3 separate regions of the Homo sapiens genome follow, and regions 2 and 3 are each linked to region 1. The links are contacts of gene promoters, found by promoter capture Hi-C in blood cells and fetal thymus (Javierre and others, 2016). All regions are on one chromosome and are shown on one strand. Each heading gives the region's core, a stretch centred on a gene start or on the middle of the fragment in contact. The rest is flanking DNA. Distances are from core to core; before and after follow the strand shown. Region 1 holds the start of ZNF775 (zinc finger protein 775). Region 2 holds the start of LOC105375567 (a long non-coding RNA gene). Region 3 overlaps LOC105375566 (a long non-coding RNA gene).

Region 1 (2,667 bases), core at 62-2,561:
TATGCAGGCAACTAGAAAATTATTAACCCTATTTTATAGACGAATAAGTCAAAGTCCAGAAACAGAAAAGTATCTTTTATAAAAAGTACACATGAAGTTAGTGACAAAATCGAATCTCAGTCCCCAGTTCCTGCTGTGCTACTGAGGCTAAACCGCAGCCGGGCCTGTGGCAAATGTTTAATCAGCTGTTGACTGAAGAAAATAAGGTCCGCCTGCCCAACAGCAACCGTTTGTAGAGTCTCAGAGGCCCAGCTTCTGTCTGTATCTACCTCATGCCCCAGAGGCAGCTTCTAGCAGCTCCGGAGAGCATCCTGCCAGTGGGAGTTGACCCAGCTGCGCCCCCTTTGAGGGAGAAGTGTGAGGAATTTCCTTACAATGGGGTGGGGAGTTGCGAAGATACTCCTTCCTGAAGGTCTGGCAGTCTGGACCGGGGTGGCAACTGGGCGGAGATGATTCCGCTCACGGGAACCCTACCTAGTAACCCGACCTAGTAACGTAACCTCAGAGCCGTTCCTCAGCTAGAAAACAAAGGGATTAGGCCGGGCGCGGGTTTGTAATCCCAGCACTTTGGGAGGCCGAGGCCGCAGGGTCACTTAAGCTCAAGAGTTCGAGACCAGCCTGGGCAACATGGCGAGACCCCCATCTCTACAAAATATTTAAAAAGTTAGCAGGTTGGGAGGTTCGGTTGAGCCACGGGTTCGAGGTTGCACTGAGCCATGATCGCGCCACTGGGGTCTGAGCGAGACCACCTCCCTGAAACAGAAAACGAAGGGGTCGGGTATAATGATTTCTAAGGTCCCTCGTAGTGAACCCTAAAAGTTATCACACCCCACGGTGGGGCTATCGCGGCTTGAGGGCAGCCACAGCCTCAGCCGGGGTTTCTGTCCGGGCCCTGATGGGTCCCCAGCAGGGAGAAACAGCGTCCGGCGCGCTGTGGCGCTCGGCGAACGTGCGCTGAGTTCAGGCGTTACAACGGGGTCGCACGCGGAGTCCAGGCCTGGCAGGGGTGCCAGGACGCCGCCGGCCATCTGGGGCCCGACCTCCCAAGGTCTCCTCCCCGCGGCCGGCGGCTAGCGCGCTCACGGCGCCCGGGCCTTGCGCGCCCGCCGGGGGCGAGGTCAGCCCTCCCCCCTCGGCTATTGGCTCCAGAGAACAAAGGAGCCGCCCCGCGGGCTGCTCCGATAGGGCCGGGCGGGTCATCTGAGCGGCGCAGCCAATGGAGTGGCTGGGCGGCCCCGGGGATGGCCAGGCCCGCCAGCCAATCAGGCACCCGTGCCCGCCCCGCCTGCCCCGGGAATGGCCAGGGCCGGGAGCCCGGTGCCCAAGTCGCCCTCGGGGTGGCAGTTCCCGTTAACCTTAGCCACAAAGTCAAAGGTATTTATTTCCCCGTCGCCTCCCTCCGAGTCCCTCTGCATTTTGGGCGGGGAGGGGCGGTGCGAGGGATGGACCAGCGCCCGGCCCCGCTCCTCCCGTGCTGCCTCCGCCCGGCCCGGGCTGGGGCGGAGGGATGGGGCGGGGGCCTGGGGTGCCCCGAGCCCCGCGCGCCCCCCGAGCCCCGGGTCTCAAGCGTTCCCTCTGCCCCGACACAGCCGAGGGGAAAGGGGCGCGGCCGAGGGTGGGGAGGGCGCCAGGCCAGGGCAGCGAGGTTAGGAGGGAGGCTAGTGAGAATGGAGGGAGGACGCGGTGGCGAGTAGAGGGGTCGCCCGCGGGCGGTCTCTCCTGGGCTGTCCCGTTGTTCCGAGTTCCCCGTCCCTGTTCGCCTCCCTGATAGATCAGTTTCTGGGGGCAGGAACCCCAATGCTCGCTGCAGAGTGACAGACACATAGTAGGTGACCAATAAATGTGTGATTAAACGAGCGGGGATAAGGATTGGGGGTGGAGATAAGTGAGAGGGAAGCACCGCAGAAGTTGGAAGTGTGTGGTGTCGGGTGTGGCGGAGAACTCCTCTCTAGGAAGATGGGCACAGCAGCCGCGAACTCGGTGGGGCGGGGTGCGGGCATCCCCTCTGTGAAGAACGTTGAGGATATCTACATGTGGAAGGTGTGGAGATGGGTCCTCCTTCGGCCCTTTGAGCAAGATGATCTGAGCTGGGGCTGGGTGTGGTCAGAGCCCCAGGGGTTGGAGGCGGACGACAGCCCAAGGCTTCACAGCTAACTGTTCCCATGTTCATCTGTAAAATGAAGAGATTAGATGGCAGTTGTCTCCTTTCAGCTTGAAGGTTCATGCTTCCGTGCTTCAAATCTGTTTTGTACTGAAATTTCTTTTATTTAAGTGTTCCCTTATGACAGTTTTTATTAATGGATTACTGTGTGTGGAGCCTGTACTGGGTGCAGGGGAGAGAGAAGGACCCTGTGTTAAGATGCATGTAGTCTTGTGCAGACTAACAAATTGATGACAATGATGATTCCATGTAGATGGTCCTAGGTGCACAGGTTAAACAGAGAAGGGATTCCTGGCTGTGCCTGGTGTGTCCAAAAAGGCTTCCTGGTCAAAGCGATCCCTAATCTGGGCTGGGAAGGGGAGAACTGAGCAAGGGCCTTCCAAGGTTGGTCACAGGGTGCGAGGACACGGTGAGTTCAAGAGCCACGAGAGGATGGGGCGTGTCGGGGTGCAATGGGGAAAGATGAGCAGAGTTGAGTTCTCAGTTCCCTCTTATCCGAGGTGTGC
Region 2 (2,667 bases), core at 78-2,577, 500 kb after region 1:
AGGTTCACAGAACTCCGTACTCTTTTTGCTACCTCTTGTGAGTTTATAATTACGCCAAAACTAAAAAGCTTTCTTAAAAATATATATACAAATTCTCAAGTAAAATATAGTAAACTTGTTACTTTTTCAGGTATTTGATGCCTTTATCTGTAAATTCTTTCAAAGGAAATATGGCATGAACAAATATTGAGACAGGGATGTTTCACCAACTCTCAACTCCCCTTATTCAAGGGTTGGATCATAATAACTACATCTAAGTAATCCAGAAATTATCATTTTACTGAAAACCACGAAGACTATGTAGATGGAGAGAGATGAAAGAAGTACTATTTTTAAATCTGCAGCTTTATATCAATATACATAAATACATACCAGATAACCATATTTTATAAGAATACATATATATTCAAGGGTATATGTCAAATTTTAAAAAGAAAGGGGATTTGGCGTGGTCCTATCATTATGAAAGGGGATTCGGCGTGTTCCTGTCCTTATTTTACTCATCATGTCATCCCCTATCGTCTACCAGGCGTCCAGGCGCTGAGGACCAACCTTCTCTTCCTCCTCTGGCTAAGAAAACAATCAGCTTTCCCAGAGCCACCGCTGTCTGGACGCTAGATGGCGCCGCTGAGCTCCCCCCACCCCCCGCCTTTCCCCCACCCCCCCGCCTCCTCCCCACCACCCCGCCCACACCTGCGGTTCCTGCAGAGGGGTTGCTCAGGTGACCGGGCCGTTTGGACCACTTGGTTCAAATTCAGGATCCAGGTAGATGCAGCTGGGGAAAGCAGGGAGGAATGGGAGGCTACAGACAGAATGACCACATGCGTGCCTTCCTGCAGGGCTTGTCTTCTCCAAAGCCCCTGGTCAGTCACATGTTTTACTTGGCTCCCTTCCTTCTTCCTCGCCTTCTCCAGACCCTCTAAGCATGTGCCTTTGTCTCTTCCCAAACCTCCTGAGTCGCCTGAGGCCCTCTGGTGGTTCAATTCTTTATTGGAAGAACAAGCAACATGTTTACCCCAAGGGTTTCCACGGAGAAATACAAACACGTCTATTATTGGCAAGAAAAGCAGCACTGATTTGTTGAAGAACTAGGGAATTGTTCTAATTCTGCAGATTAGTCTCTTCTTGTCTTTGGTTGAAGTAACACAACCATCTCCATAGAGGTTCCTAAGCATAGAGGAAGATTGTATTGTAACAATACAAGGCTGCCGTAACTATGTAATTGGCCATAATTGAAGACAAGAATGGTGGGAAGTATGGGTTTGCAATTACCTAATATTCCTGTCCTAACCCATTTCAGGAGATCTTGCTGCGAGGTGCATGTTACCCATATAACAGACCCTGGGAGTATACCCAGGAGCAGTGGTGCGGATCACAGAAGGGGCTTTAAGACGCCCCTGGTGTTCTATGGCCATTAGCTACCAGTAGGAGCAGCTGCACCCCTGGCTGACCACAGATGTGGCTGTCAAACACAGTGAGTTAACAAAGGACAGTGAAACAGGGGGACGTGCAAGTCAGAGGAGATGCCTGCTTCCTCCTAGATCCCCACCATTTTCCTGGCTTTCTACTCTATTCCCAAAAAGAAGACACACTGGGGTAGAGGGCTGAGGGGAATAATTCAGTCCACAGATGCAGTTTTCTCTCTTTTTGCTACCATGGTTCTGAATGAAGAGCTAATATTATACTATTCCCACCTGTGATGAGCCCCAGTCCTTTTGATTCTTTTTCTTCTTCATCATCCATCCAAACGTCCCCAAGTGGTAAACAGGCCAGCAAACCTGTTATCCTCTCTTCTGTCCCTTCCACACATGTTTTAGCTTTAGTGGAAGCTCACAGAATAACCCTCAATTATCTGTTGTGGTCTGTGGCATTACCTTCTTAAAGGAAAGCTGATGGGTTCTTTCAACAGGTTTGGGGTCCACTCCCAGCTAACAATTAGTGTGACCTTAGCCGAGCACAGTGTCTCACGCCTGTTATCCCAGCACTTTGGGAGGCCGAGGCGGGTGGATCACGAGGTCGGAGATCAAGACCATCCTGGCTAACATGGTGAAACCCCATCTCCACGAAAAATAGAAAAGAAAATTAGCTGGGCGTGGTGGCGGGCGCCTGTAGTCCCAGCAACTCATGAGGCTGAGGCAGGAGAATGGTGTGAATCAGGGAGGCTGAGCTTGCAGTGAGCCGACATCGCGCCACTGCAGTCCAGCCTGGGTGACAGAGCAAGACTCCATCTCAAAAAAAATTGTGTGACCTTGTTTTCCTTTACCATTGTTTCTAGTTGCCCAGGAATCTAGTGGGAAGATGTGGCTATGGTCTGGGGCAGGATATTTTGGGAAGCCTGGTGTCCAGGGATATTAGGCAAACAAACTTTTGCATTGCACTTAATATTTCAGAAACCCAGCTGAATAGCTCTTATTTTTATGGCACTAAGAAAGTAAATCTTAAATCTTTGCTCTTAACACCATTAAGACAAAATTATTATGAAAATTGGACAAAGTGCCTTATAGCAGCTGATATATTTAAAACATCAATGATTGTACCCTTAGCATTGTTTTATTTTTATTTTTTAAAATTATCTAAACATTGTTTCAAAGCTTGTGAAACTACTAAAAGACAAAGGATTGTAAATGTCAATGAAAGGAAAAGTAAAACAGCAAGTATTTTAGCATA
Region 3 (2,667 bases), core at 114-2,613, 390 kb after region 1:
ATAATTTAACATATCAAATAAGCCAATTAGTTTAATGTCCCTCTTTTACAAGGTGAGAGAGAAATTCTTTCACATTTTCCAGGAGCCCATCTCAAAAGTCCCAAAGTTAGTTCAAGATCAATAAAAAAGGCTTAATTTAGAAATTAATCTTGGGAAGTTTGTCAGAAACGTCAAAAGGGGCCGAGTATGGTGGCTCACACCTTTAATCTCCACATTTTGGGAGGCCAAGGCAGGAGGATGGCTTGAGCCTGGGAGTTAATACCAGCCTGGGCAACACAGACCTATCTCTACAAAATATTTTTTAAAACATTAGCGGAAGATAGTAGCATGCACCAGTAGTCCCAGCTACTCAGGAGGCTGAAGTAGGAGGATCCATTGAGCCCGGGGGTCAAGGCCGCAGTGAGCTGTGATCATGCCACTGCATCGTAACCTGGGTAACAGAGTGAGACCCTATTTCAAAAAATAAAAACAATAATAAAAACTAGGAGTGGAAAGGATAGGGGTTTAGATGAAACAAGATTGCCCATGTATAACTGTTGATGCCTAATGATAGATACGTTGAGTTCAGTACGCTATTTTTTCTACTTCTATGTATTTAGAATTTTCCACTTAAAAAGTTTTTTTAAATAGATTGACAGAGGTTTATCAAAGTTCATAATATTTCAATTTTTCCAAATATTTTAGATATAATGGGTTAAATGGGATACTTTTCAACCTTTCAGTGAAAGAGTAAGACATACAATTTATAGTCATTTGGTATGTCTTGATAAAGCTTTTTTGGTATACTTCCCAGACATTGAGAAATCAAGTGATTCTAATGACTGGCCATTAAATCCTTCTGCAAGTCAAGCAGTCTCCACTATTTTGTTTTCAACAAAAAGGAAGACAGATATATCCATCAATAGAAATTAAAAATTAATGAGAAACCACTATGCGGTTTTGGCATTTATTTTGGAAGGAGTACAAAGAATTGAGTGGCATTAGCATAACAGAATTGATTATATTTCTATTGATTCGTTTATATGAACAAGGCTTCTCAATTTTTGCACTGAAGTAATTTCATTTAAAAATGTTAATATCTACAATGTGCTAGAAATTACATCCTTTGCAAATATTCATGATGAAAAAATTTTAGAAGTTCAGCTTAAAATCAAGAGAAGACCTAAATTTTTAAAAATCCCTTTAGTGAATACAGAAGTAAAAAAGTTTGAAGACCATTGCCTTAAAGAAAAACTTACATGAATGCATAAGGATATTTTGTAAGAAGACTCATGATAGTAAAAAGCTACAAACAACCCAAATATTCATCAATACTGCATTGGATAAGCAAATTATAGAATATCCACACAGTGGAATGATATTCAGCAGGAAAAATGAACAAAACACAATTACCTACATCAACATGAATAAATATCATATACATAATGTTTAATCAAAGAAGAACCGTTCTTTTCCCAGAAGAATACAGAATCTGATTCCATTTTTGACAAGGTTAGTCGTGGAAAAAAACTAAAAATATATATTGTTTAGAGCAACAGACATAGGTGATACAAAACTATAAAGAAAAGCAAGGAAAGGCTGGGCGCGGTGACTCACGCCTGTAATCCAAACTCTTTGGGAGGCCAGAGCAGAAGGATTCCTGAGGACAGGAGTTCGAGACCAGCCTGGGCAAAACAGTGAGGCCCTATCTCTACAAAAAAAAAAAAAAAATTGGCCAGGTGAGGTGGTGCACAAGGTGATCTTGCTACACAAAAGTCCAAAGTGGGAGGATCGTTTGAGCCCAGGAGGTCAAGGCTGCAGTGAGCTATGATTGCACCACTGCACTCCAGCCTAGGCAATGGAGCAACACCCTATCTCAAAAAAAAGAAAAAGAAAGAAAGTGAATGATTAACACAAAAGAGAGGATAGTAATAATACCCTAGCGACAGGGAGAGGAACTCATGGAGGTGGGATGGGAAGCTTCGAAGGGCAATGCTCTACTCCTTAAACTGGGTATGGCTTTATTGAGCTTTATGCTGTACATATACTCTTATATATATATATTCATGATATACTTAACTATAAATATAGCTCAACCATATTGAAAAACATGAAACAAGACCTGAACAAACAGAAAAACAGACCATGTTCTGGTATGAAAATACTTACCACTATGAAGATATACATTCTTCCAAAATGGATATATACATAATTAAATTCCAATTGAAATCTGTTGTTTTTGTGTGTGGAATTAGATATGCTTTCTTCAGGCTCCCTTGTGCGGAAAAAAAATGCCTGAACATAAGTTAGTCTGGCATCGGCATAAAACACACAAATAAATCAGTAGGACAATATACATAGTACATAATGAATCCTAGTTAATAATGGGAATAAATGTATGAAAAAGCAGAGGAAAATTGGTTATTTAGTTAAGTGGTGAGGAAAAAACAGCTTTCCAATTAGAAGAAAGTAAAGCTGGGCTGCTACCTCACACTACATAAAAATCCAAGAGGCCGGGCACAGTGACTCACACTGTAATCCCAACACTTTGGGAGGCTGAGACAGGTGGATCACGAAGTCAAGAGATCGAGACCATCCTGACCAACATGGTGAAACCCCATCTATACTAAAAACACAAAAATTAGCTGACCGTGGTGGTGCCCGCCTGTAGTCCCAGCTACTTGGGAG

What was found. Contacts are between HindIII fragments. The CHiCAGO score rates a contact against its expected background, and 5 or more counts as called.
Region 2: a contact is called between a fragment that was not itself captured here and the fragment with the promoter of ZNF775 in region 1, in 2 of 17 cell types (non-activated CD4 T cells and total CD4 T cells). The highest score is 6.3, in non-activated CD4 T cells.
Region 3: a contact is called between a fragment that was not itself captured here and the fragment with the promoter of ZNF775 in region 1, in 7 of 17 cell types (activated CD4 T cells, non-activated CD4 T cells, naive CD8 T cells and 4 more). The highest score is 12.7, in activated CD4 T cells.

Annotation. Positions count from the first base shown.
Region 1 is chr7:150,378,019-150,380,685 of GRCh38, forward strand. ZNF775 (zinc finger protein 775) reads left to right here and starts at 1,312. Exons shown (of 3, transcript NM_173680.4): 1 at 1,312-1,374. It overlaps ZNF775-AS1 (ZNF775 antisense RNA 1), which reads right to left. Exons shown (of 2, transcript NR_183445.1): 2 at 1,827-2,170. RefSeq lists enhancers at 301-460, 2,471-2,530 and a silencer at 871-1,680. The HindIII fragment of the contact is 8,122 bases long and covers 1-2,667 here.
Region 2 is chr7:150,876,316-150,878,982 of GRCh38, forward strand. LOC105375567 (a long non-coding RNA gene) reads right to left here and starts at 815. Exons shown (of 5, transcript XR_928171.3): 1 at 694-815. The HindIII fragment of the contact is 2,523 bases long and covers 67-2,589 here.
Region 3 is chr7:150,768,159-150,770,825 of GRCh38, forward strand. All of the region lies in intron 2 of LOC105375566 (a long non-coding RNA gene), which reads right to left. Among named protein-coding and RNA genes, the nearest start is that of TMEM176B, 31 kb to the right of the region's middle. The HindIII fragment of the contact is 1,187 bases long and covers 771-1,957 here.